Linked DNA regions of Homo sapiens: region 1 is linked to region 2. Evidence: promoter capture Hi-C in human tissues and cell types (Jung and others, 2019). All regions are on one chromosome and are shown on one strand. Each heading gives the region's core, a stretch centred on a gene start or on the middle of the fragment in contact. The rest is flanking DNA. Distances are from core to core; before and after follow the strand shown.

Evidence for each region. Contacts are between HindIII fragments. The study calls those that stand out against the background at their distance.
Region 1: a fragment that was not itself captured here is called in contact with the fragment with the promoter of REPS1 in region 2 in 1 of the 25 tissues and cell types used here (mesenchymal stem cells).

The regions. Positions count from the first base shown.
Region 1 is chr6:138,923,297-138,929,213 of GRCh38, forward strand. It overlaps REPS1 (RALBP1 associated Eps domain containing 1), which reads right to left. Exons shown (of 20, transcript NM_001286611.2): 10 at 3,105-3,185. Among named protein-coding and RNA genes, the nearest start is that of REPS1, 62 kb to the right of the region's middle. The HindIII fragment of the contact is 4,532 bases long and covers 1-3,603 here.
Region 2 is chr6:138,984,364-138,990,254 of GRCh38, forward strand. It overlaps REPS1 (RALBP1 associated Eps domain containing 1), which reads right to left and starts at 3,890. Exons shown (of 20, transcript NM_001286611.2): 1 at 3,167-3,890. The coding sequence starts at 3,319. RefSeq lists silencers at 3,392-3,691, 3,882-4,121. The HindIII fragment of the contact is 5,323 bases long and covers 204-5,526 here.

The sequences.
Region 1 (5,917 bases), core at 88-2,587, 64 kb before region 2:
TTTATAAGGCAAGATCAAAGGAGAAAAAAATGATAGTTCATGAGAAAATAAGTCTTATTCCAAATACAAAGCAAATTAGAAATTTTAAAAAAGAAAAACTTCTTAGATGCTTTAATTCATAACATTCATCTAATCTATATTCGACGTATGTGTATGTGTATATAAAATCAGATTTATAAAGCTTGGAACAGCTGGGAATGTTAACTAGCATTTTCATATATTTGCAGTGCAATCAATCACAGCAAAGACTAACGCATTACACTTCTCATCCACCTACAATTTTCCTGTGTTTTCATTCATGTATATCCTAGCAGAAGCAGATTCTACCAAAGGCTACTAACTGACAAGCAGTTCAAGAAAAGAGATCAAGTTTCTGGAAACAAGACCATCAGAATCTCAATTTCATCAGAACTATGAAAGCTTAATAACTAACCATCTGGTTTGCAAATGGGGTCACTGCACTGTGTAGTGGTTGTCTCTAAATGCTACAGACCAGTTTGGAACTTTGCACTGACTTTTACTGAGCAAATGGCTAATTATTACAATTTAGTTTCTTTTTAATAGTCTGTTAAATATTTCCAATACTGTAAGAAATGTTAAATTCATAATAGAAGAGTAGAGTTTTTCCCCCCAGGTGATTCCCTTGTAATCTGAATGTGCCTTATTTACTTACTTATAATCCTTATTTATATAAAGCCTTGCAAAGGATCATGTGGGATTGTGGCTACAGGCTGTAGTGGGTCTGTAGATGGGTAATACTTCAGGTAAGTATCAAATGAAGGTTAAGAAACTTAGACACTGTAGGACACAACTAAGAGAAAGCAGGCTACTCTTCTAACCGAAAATTTAAAGTAAGAATACTGGTTGGGAAACAAAGTTCAGATTTAAGTTTGCCAACATAAAATAAATATTTCTAGGCATTAGATTATAAACATAAATATTTAAGAATGACAATTTTTTAAAATCCAATTCAGAGGTCTAAATTCAAGTTTAAAATGCAAATTAATCACTCTATTTTCCTAGAGCCTCCTGACACACTAGAGATAACAAAGGAAAGTAATGAGCCACATAATTTTAGACACTAGAGCTGCAAATCTGAATATTATTTCCAAGAAATGTCAATAATATCACTGCTACTCAACCAACTATTTCTCTACATTTCCTGTCAGTCGTAGGTCAATTTATTTCGCTTCTGAGTTCTAGATTTTTATACATAATGTTCTTGCCTGGCCTGACAAAGAATCATAATACTATGAGTGATTATTGTCACTATTTTTTAAGGGTTAGAGAATATAATAGTTTCTTTATTGCTACATCTAACCTTCCTTCCCATATACTTTCATTAAGTACTTTCATATTAGCTTAACTGTACAATAATGAGACAGGAATAATATAGAGAATCAAAACTTAAAGCTTAAAGGCAAAACTTTAAACTTAAAAAGAAAACAAAGATAAAACTTCTAATTTACAGAACTTGTCAATTCCTAAGAGATCTTAATTATAGCTGCCAATAAGCAGCAAAGTTTTCAATCATTGCCTTGTATTTCTCCTACATTTTTCAGAGACTAAAATAAAAAATAAATGCCTTAAATGTAGCAAGAAATGAGGAGCAAAAGGCAGAGATAATCTACATATCAACTGGTCCTTGAATACTTAATAGACAATAAAATAAACATTTTAAAATTGTACATTATCTGTTTGAATTCAATAAATGTAACAGCAGCCTCTAGATTTCATATAAATTCTTTAAAATGATAAAAGACATCAGGCCAGGTGTGGTGGCTCACACCTGTAATCCCAGCACTTTGGGAGGCCGAGGTGGGTGGATCACTGGAGGTCAGGAGTTCAAGATCAGCCTGGCCAACATGGTGAAACCCCGCCTCTACTAAAAAATACACACACACACACACACACACACAAATTAGCCAGGCATGGTGGCGGACACCTGTAGTCCCAGCTACTCGGGAGGCTAAGGTAGGAGAATCGGTTGAACCCAGGAGGCAGAGGTTGCAGTGAGCTGAGATCGCACCACTGCACTCCAGCCTGGGCGAAAGAGAGAGGCTCCAACTCAAAAAACAAAAACAAAAAACAAACCACATCAAAGGCCCATTAACTGCTAATGGTATACTTTATCTTTAAATGCCACTTCTTCAAAATCTCTTTAGATGACAAGACCATTTTTACATTTAATTAATAAATGCTGGCTGTCTTTGATCAGATCATCTAGAAAGAACGACTTATGTCATTTTCTCCATATCTTTCTACTCAGCTCATTTTAAAAATTCTGCCTTTACACATTTCTTCACTTTCTGCTTACTCCCTCTTTTCTTTTTGGAAAGTGCTTATTAGCACATCCTTGTCTTAAAAAAAAAAAAAAAGACAGAGAGAGAAAGAAAAAGAAAAAGCAGAGAAGTGAACAGGGAGAAGAACGATTAACAGCTAAGGTTTTCAAAAAACCCAAGGGACAGGTGTAGCATATATTAAATTAACTCTATGGGGACAGAATTTATTTTTTAAATCAGGATATGAACTTTGTAGCATTTTCAAAGCAACACAGTAAGCCACAAGAAGACAAGACAGAGGCTCCTTTGCATAAGCGGAATATTTGACCAACATCTTGTATTGCTGAACTTGATTCTCTCTAACAGGACTCAACATACTAATTAAATAAAAGCCATGTCATTTGGCATGTCAAAATAAAAGATGACATTGCATAAATAGTTACATATGTAGGACATATTACATGATGTGTAAGCATACAGATAATACATAAAGAGTCACTACACTGAAATAAACAGTATGTATATAAAATATACACTTAATTAGCAAATGATAAGGTTAACAAAATAGATTGTCACAAAAAATGCTTCTCTAGACACATGTACCAGATTTTAAAAACGTAGTTTTCTCTCAACAAAATAACTAGAAAAAAGGAATGGCAAAAAATGTCTTTCCCACCATTAAGCACACAAAAACCAAAAAGCCTGCCGCCACTTCCCTCTAAGCACTCCACTGAATCATGCATATCAGCTAAAAACGATAATGAATGGAAATTTGGGTTAATAAAATTAATCTCAAACAAGCAAGCTAAGTGATTGACTTACAGGATCAGCTGGTGCAATGTTAGAATCAAATTGGGTCAGAGTTTGTGAGCTTGAAGAGCGTTCACTAAATGTCTCCCACTGCTGAACAGACAGAGGAGAGACAAGTCAGCATGATGAGAAAGATGGAGTAAAAGATCACTGGAGAAGATTTAGCAAAGTAATTCAGAGGTTGCACTGCAAGTTGTGTTTCATAGGTTTAACAAAATTCAGTAATTTCTATTTTTCCGTCAACATTTTATATTTATTCTGGGTCACTTGTAATGTAAGGTGAGGAGTTCACAATCAAAAGTATAGTAATGATTTATTGCAATCTCTATGGAAGAGATTTAAAGCCTTACAGAGTTAAAATAAAACACAATACAGGAGCAAAGTCTAAGTGATATAAATGTCCACCAAGTAAAAATGCTAAAGAGGCATGCCTTGACTAAAGAAAGAAAGAATAACATCAAATTCTTCTTTGAACATTCAAATGTTAATGTACTGATTTTGTGATCCTAATGAATCAAAGTTTTGTTCAAAACAAAGCAAGTCAGTGCGACTTGCCAGTGCGACCCCTGAAAGATGATTCTATTATGTACGTGCACATATTTTACACATATGTATAGATATTTAATAAAATATAATTGAGATAAAATGCAAAGAATTCTGGAATTAATATATGTAGAGCTTATGTCAATCTGTAGCAAGTCAACCCCTGCAATCAGCACTACAAACAGGGCCATGCCAGACCACAAGACAGAACTGCCAATCAGACACCCCCGCTTCCCCACTCCCTACCCCATGCTAGAAAAATCAGAATGCGGCCACAATGAGAGCAAATCAAGCATCTGAGCATGAGTTATATACAGATGTATTTTGATATGAAATACTACTCTTCTAAAAGAGGTACACAAAAAAAATCATACCTCTTAAAACAGGTGGAGTGATAAGTCAATATTAATTACAGTAAATTCCATTTGTTTTGGAGATCTTAGTAATAAAATGGTATAGAATTTTTACATTAAAATTGCATTAAAATTATCATTTAAATCTGATTCTTAAGAATTATCAGTTATCCTCTAAAGAGGAAAAAACATCTACACACATACAATGTATACACACGAATATTTACACAAAGACAAAACTACCCCATAAACCAAAATCCTCTTTGGGAAAGTATACATTTTTATGCTTCAAAGTTCAACTTACTATTTAAAATAGTGACATTTAAGTTGAGAAGATATGTAAAAATTAAATATTAGCAAATGAGCACACTGGTGAAAATTACCTACAAAAACGGCTAATACAATAATTCAACGACTTTTCCTACAGATTAGTTTTCATATGAAAATTAAGATATTCTGAGAAATACTGATCCAAAGTATTTCATGAATTAAGAATCCCACAATAATTACTTTTATCATGCGGCATCACTTCAGGAAAGTTACTTATCAATATCTGTTAATATAATTAGTTTTTTCCTCAATAATTATTGTTACAGGGACACAGAAGGAAGTTTTAAAATCCTAATTAACTAACTGTGGAGAAAAGTTTACAGAAGATTTTTGCCAAAAAGAAGGTATTTACTTGTGTACCTCATTTGGGTGGCATGAAGTTTAACTTTGTTTCACAAGACTGCATGTAAGTTACCTGGAGGACAAAGGGACTCTCTTATCATCTTCATACTTAATTTTTAAGGGCTCACAGCTGTGGAACCAGACTACTGGAATCCCAGTTACGCTGTGCAAACTTGGGCAAGTTGTATAACTTCTCTGTGCTTCAGTTTCTCCATCTGTAACATATTATCTACCTCATAAGATTGTTCAGAGGACTAAAGGAGTTAATATATATAAAGAGTTTGTTTTTGTATTGTTTTTTAAACAGAACTGACATATCAAAAGTGCTCCATAAAGGTTAGAGATTATTAGGGTCATCTCCTATACTGTCTTATCCGTAACCACAGGTGCTAAATAAATCTATGTTGAAAGATTACTAGTGCTTTCTGGAAGACAATTAAAATGTAATCTAAATTCCATATCCTAACTAGATATTTTTAGAAATATCATTAGATGTCTCAAAATCAATGATTTATTAACATTTTGATTTTTCACATATCGAAAAAAAATTATGACATTCATGACCTCATTACCAAATACTATAAATAAAACTTTATGGGAATATTTAAGTAGGGAAAATGCAAGTACTACTACCTGAATTTAGAAGGGACTTCCATTTCTGTCTCTAATGATCACATACGATTTTATTTAGAATGAACATGGGCTTTAGATTTGAGATGCTTTAGAAAGAATGTTTTTATTTACAAACTGATATCAATGGAATACAAATATTCTTTTAATGTAATACTGGTTTTTAAAAAAGACACAAGATGAATAGATGCAGCAAAAATAGTAGTGTCTCAACAATTACCTTACTTTCCATAAACCCTCTCTATTAGCAAATTCTTTCAAGGTGTAATCCCTTCATCTAGAAAAACACTTGTATTAATGGTTTTGCATCCAATAGTAGGATGGATGGTGTGATGTTATAATGTCTCAGACACAAGTATCCTGGCTGCAATTATGTCATAAAGCAGGAAATAGTATAAAACCACCAGTTAGTTCTGTTTTCCAACTGTCCAAAATTATTAATATCTAGCATGCTCTTTAATCCAGCATTTTTCTGGCTTTAAAAGGCATGGAAAGGACAGAAGCTTAAAATTTCTTCCTGAAAGTGAACAAACTTTTGTATTTTTAGCATTTCCTACATGCTACAAAAAGAAAAAAAATAAGAAAAAAACGTAACTTGTTCACAAAGAAAACTGCTCTAATAGGCTA
Region 2 (5,891 bases), core at 2,640-5,139:
TGAGCCACTGTGCCCGGCCCATATCTGATTTTTTGTCCCACTCCCACCACTATAGTCCAGGTTAGGGTTTCTCAGTCTCAGCACTATTGACATCTTGGGCACATAATGCTTGTGGAGGCTGTCCTGTGCACTGCAGGATGTTTAGCAACATTTCTGGCCTCTACCCACTAGATGCCAGTAGAACTGCTCTCTCCCCTCTAGTTATGACAATCAAAATGTCTCTAGACACTGCCAAATGCCTCTTCCCCATTGTCACCTTCATTCCCATGTTTGAGTACCACTGGCCCAGTTTCTCACTTCGTATCTGCCATACAAAATCAGCCCCCAAGTTAAGTCTACAGTTTTATTCCTCTAATTCCTGTGGCCCTGACAAACGACTCCTAAAGCACTGCTTTATGAGTCATTTCTCTTAAATCTACCACTCCCTGTTACCTACACAATTAGTTCAAAGCTCTCCATCCAACCTTGATAATCTGGCCTCAATTAAACATTATTCCACAAAGCACCTCATATAGTGGCTACCCAGCAGTCCTTCAATAACATATCCAGTCTCTCCCTTTCTATTCTACTGCTGTCACCCTGGTTGGATGTCCATGACCTAGCACCCAATCCAGACCACTGAAAGAGTGTCATTCCTTACCCTTTCTGCCACTCAAAGTCAAAAACTTTTCAATGGGTCTCCATTGCTTGCTGAAATATCGTTATCTGCTGCCCTTCTTCAGAGTCTTTCCCAATATGGCCTCTTTCTAATTTTATATTCTGTTATCCCGAAAACACTAGTCCTTGAAAAGGCTCCTACACTTTCCACTTCTGATCACTTTTCTCTGCCTGGAAGCCCTCATAATTCCATTCCCCTCACTCCACCCTAATTTAAAGTCCATCTGAATTAAGTCAAAAAGCCTTTCTTGGTCATACCTCCTTAGCATTTCATAACACTTGGCACCTCTCCTATGGCATACATTATACCTTATGTTATACATGAGCACTCCTATAATTGACAAGATCCTCAAGAGCTTCTTACTCCTCTTCTGATGCCTGCAATGCCTAGCCCAGTGTTAAGTAGAGAACTAAGCATTAGATATGAGCTGCCCCAAATGTTTCCCACTTAGAAAGCAATGGAGGACTGTGTTTTCAGACAATCCCAAACTCCCTTAAGGGAATTAAGCACATATTCTCCTTTTGTCTCATATTTCTATGTCTTAGACCAATTTTTAAGTAAATTGCCTTCAAGATATCTAGACTGCTATTTAGTATACATAACTGTAAGAGTTCTGCTCCAGGGAGTTCCAACTTGTAACTGAACCCTGAATATTTAAGCTCTCTCTTTATGCCAAAAGACAATGGAAATTTATTTTTTGAATGTTAATAAAATTGAGCAAAACATAAAAATAACTTGCACTGAATTAAACATGTTTGAAGTAAAGATTCATTAATGCTAATGTGTCTGTCCTAAAAATTACATTTCAAGTTCTAAAGTCTTTGTGTACCCATTAAAAAGATTGAAAGTTTTATTTCAACTCTTTCTCACCTCAAAGACAAACTAAAATAGAACAGAGAAGGCTTTTCCTTAATTTTATTTAGATCCTAACTTGAAGGTATACTTTGTTATTTCTTCAAAAGGAGCAAAAAGAGTATGATTAATGAGCATGTTCTGACCAGATCTCTAAGTCCTACTCCAAAGCTGTAACAGGAGAGTACCATAGACCACACTACCAGCACCCTTCGTTAGCAGACCACAGGCTTTGTTTTGTATCTCCCTGAGCTAAGAATGGCTTTACATTTTTGTGTTTTGTAAACACAAGAAGAAGAATATGCAACAGAGAGCATATGTGGCCAGCAAAGCCCAAAATATTTACTATTTGTCCCTTTTCAACAGGATGAATTTGGGACTCCTCGTTGCCCTTCACTGGCACGTAAGACATCCCACCTTTAAAAAAGCAATGTAAAACACAAGACCATTTAAAAAGATCGAACTCGTTCAACTTAGTCATAGTTAATGCAGACTTAACTTCTAAAACAGAGACCTGTGTGTGGACATTTTTATTCTTCACAGAATTTTTGTTGGAAGAAACTTGCCTTCATTCTGTGGATGAACATACTTATGCTTGAAAATGGAAAGTGCCTGACCCAAAGTCACACTGCTGGTTAACAGCAGAGTAGGGTCAAGGACCCAGCCTTCAAAACCCTGGTCCAATGCTTTGCAGTCCACTACATACACCTATACATGTGGCTTTAAATTTTGGAGATGTGGATAACTAGCTTGGATCAATATAAAAGATGAAAGCTTAAAACCTGTTCCTAACATACTGTTTAGACAGACTCCTACTAGCAGCTATGAATCATTAAACAGAGTAGCATTAATGCTCACCACATACATTAGATAAGAACTTCTAGGAAGTCCTCTGTTTCAAAAGCAGATATGATAAAAAAAGGCTTTAAACCTACAGGGTTTGCTCCTCCAGGGCTTCAGATTAGGGCAAATAACGCACTTCTGCCTACCAGCTGTTCAATACTCATCTCCCAACCCAAATCCACAAGTTCCACAAATGCTTTCGAATGCCTGTTGAAAAACATTGTTCAGTCTCATCACATACACACGTTCTACAGATAATTACAACTTCTTGTATGCCTACTTGTAAAACTACTAAGTAGTTCACATTTTAAAAAATTTCCCTAAGAATTTTGCTTCCTTTAAAAAAACTGCTTCTTCGATTCCTAAATCTATAGAACTCACTTTATCACGTCTTCTCGGTTAATCCAAGAATTAAAAAAACCATTTTGCCCATACTGATAACTTTACTACTCTGCAGGATCCGAAAAGCTCTCTATATGCCAGGTTCTAGGATTCACACACATTAACAACCTAAGATCCTTCAAGTGAGATAGCTCTTGCAGTACAGAGCACAGATTCTCAGGGTCGTGGGGGATACCGGCTGAGGCTCTTCAGACCCCCACCACAGGAGTTCCGTCCTCTAAGGGCAACCCCCTCCCCCTTGGCCGCGGCGCGAGTCCAGGCCTCCCGGGCACCTGCGGCCCCTGCCCGCTGCGGGGACCCCCCGAGGAACCAGCCCCCCGCCGGGCCCCAAGGAATCGGCGCCCACTCCCACTCCTGGAGGCCAGTGACTGCAGGCCTAAGCCGCCCGCCGGCCCCGGGACGCGACGTTACCTGTAGGACCACGTCGTTCGGCAGCTGCGCGGCCCGGAACAGCTCCAGCACCCGCCCGTTGACCACCACCTTCTTGGTGCTCTCAATGTCGCAGTAGGAGAAGAGATCTGAATAGTATTTCTGCTCCGCATCGCTCAGCGTTAAGCCTTCCATCTTCGCCTCCGGCTCACGGCCGCCCCGCCCCGCATGCACTACTCGGGGCCCGGCCCCAGGAACCTGGGCCGGCAGGGGCTGCGCGTGGCCCGGCCTCCTGCTAGCTTCCCGAAAACGCCGGCCCCGGCCTCACACGCGCCAGGTGCGCCCGAGCAACAGGGCCCGGAGGTCGCGAGGAGGGGGCCCGGCTGCGCTCGCCGCGCCGCTGCCTGCGAGGCCCGGCGCGCGGCTGCGGCTGCGGCTGCGACTACGGCTCCGGCTCCGGCTCCGGCTCCGGCCGCGGGGAGGGTGCAGAGAAAGAGGCGGGGGCCGCGGAGGCGCGAGGCACTGGCGGACTCCGCCCCCGCCGCGGGTTCGAGTCTCCCCGGCTCCCTGCCGATTCCCCCAGACTTCCCGCCTCGGCTTCCCCTTCCGTCCACGCCTCCGGAGCGGCAGCGCTTCCCGGAAAGTTGTGGGGCTTCGAACCTAAAGTTTCGGGGGATCTGGGCTGAGCGTGGCCGCCGCTCCGCCTCCCTCCGCCGCCATTTACAGTGCCCCGGCCCGGCCCCGACGCGCCCGCACCAACAGTGACAGCGGCGGCCGCGCTCCAGACCCGGATGTGAGGCCGGGAGGAGAGAGCGCGAGAGGGAGAGAGAAACACCCACCGGGCTGGCTTGGCCGCTCCCGGGAGAGGGAGGAGGCCGCAGCGCCCCCTGGTGGCCGGCGCCCGGCGGCGGGATGACCGAGCCGCCCTCTGCGCGGAGATCTCAGCAGCAAGACCCCCGGAAAGGGGGGTGCAGTGGGAAACAGCCGGCAGCTCATTAAGACCGAGATAACTAAGATCCGGGTTGCAGTTTTTATGTTTCGCAGTTTCTGGTCCTAAGCGTCTGAATAATTGGATTGAAAGGGGAGCCTTGTTCAGGTTATTATCATTCTATCTGTACCTTTTCGGTACAGATGAAGATAAATGCAGTATTTCCATCTGTTCTGAAGGGCTATGAACATCCGGGCTATGAACATCCTGGCTATCCGGGAAGCCTCCACGTAGACACCAACATTGAGGCTTCATCTCACTCGTGCTTCAAGCCATGTTTACCTGAGAAACAAAATGTGCTGAATAGAGGGGAAAACTGGCAAAGTTGTCCTCTTTGTTCACCAGGTCATTCCGGTCACTGGGAACTTAATACTCTACATTTATACCTTCAACTCTATCAACTCATGTAGGCCCGGGGCTGCCCACAGGGGCTGCCTTCCGTATTTTCTCCTTTATGAAAATCATGGAGTGGCGCTCTTTTAATCTGCACCTGTCCCAGAGAGGGGATTCTTCAGCTATTTCAAGTAGAATATCTTAAGAATTTATACTTAGCAAATATAAAATACTTCAAAGACGGGAGCTAAGGCAGAATTACCCAGAGTTCTGGTTTTTATTTTGTCTTCTACAAGTTGTTTCCCAGAGTGCGGATCCTATAAATGACACATATGAGGAAATTATTACAGGTTCCCAGTCATTTATCTGTAATTGCAAAATTCAAAGCGCACTGAAAACCCAAAGACTTTTTTTTGTAACCCTTTGGAAGTAAAACCTGCCCTGCCTCATTTGGAGGCAAAATCTAAACTAAGCTTGCATGAAGCTATTTCTAGCCTTTATGGATCCCACTTAGTGTCAATATTTACTCATTTCACTCCAGGTCTTTGTAGAATGTTAATATGTACACAGTCACAGGCATTCTATTATCTTTCTATTTTTTAAGAAAGATAAGGGATTTTAGACCTGTCAATGTCTTCTGACTTGACTAGTAGTATTTGATAAAGGTAAGTATATACTATCCATTAAGCTTATTTCCCATCTCTAAGACTTTCAGTTTGCTACAGCAGCCCCTCATGTGTCCTTTCAGGGCACCTGCAGCAAGTGATCAGACCCCCCCCAGACAGCTGCCTTCCAAAGGTGTAAACAGAAAGAGCACAATGGGGTAGGGATTGGCTCACAATTGTCTTTGCATCTTTTTCTCTGCCACCTCTCCTAGGCCTTGCAGCTCTTGTCGGCCCCAGGGCCTTTGTTCCTGCCATCTAAAATAGTCCTTCCACAAACCATGGCATGGCGTATTCTCTCATATGGTTTCAGGTCCCTGCTCATATGTCACCTCCTCAGAGCAGCCTTCCTGCAACAGCTGCTGTAAAATAATCCCACCATGCACTATCCCCTTATCTGAATTCCTTTTTTTTCTCTTTTGAGACAGAGTCTCCCACTGTCACCCAGGCTGGAGTGCAGTGGCATAATCTTGGCTCACTGTAGCTTCGACCTCCCAGGCTCAGGTGATTCTCCCACCTCAGCCTCCCAGGTAGCTGGGACCACAGGCCCAGGCCACCATGCCCACCTAAATTTTGTGTATGTGGCTTTTGTAGAGACAGAGTTTTGCCATGTTACCCAGGCTGGTCTCAAACTCTTGGGCTCACCCACCTCAGCCTCCCAAAGCGCTGGGATTACAGGCATGAGCCACTGCACCCAACCTGAATTCTTTTTCTTTATAACACTTTTCACTATCTGACATTACATATATAGCTGTTACATTTTTAACGGCTAATTATTGAATAA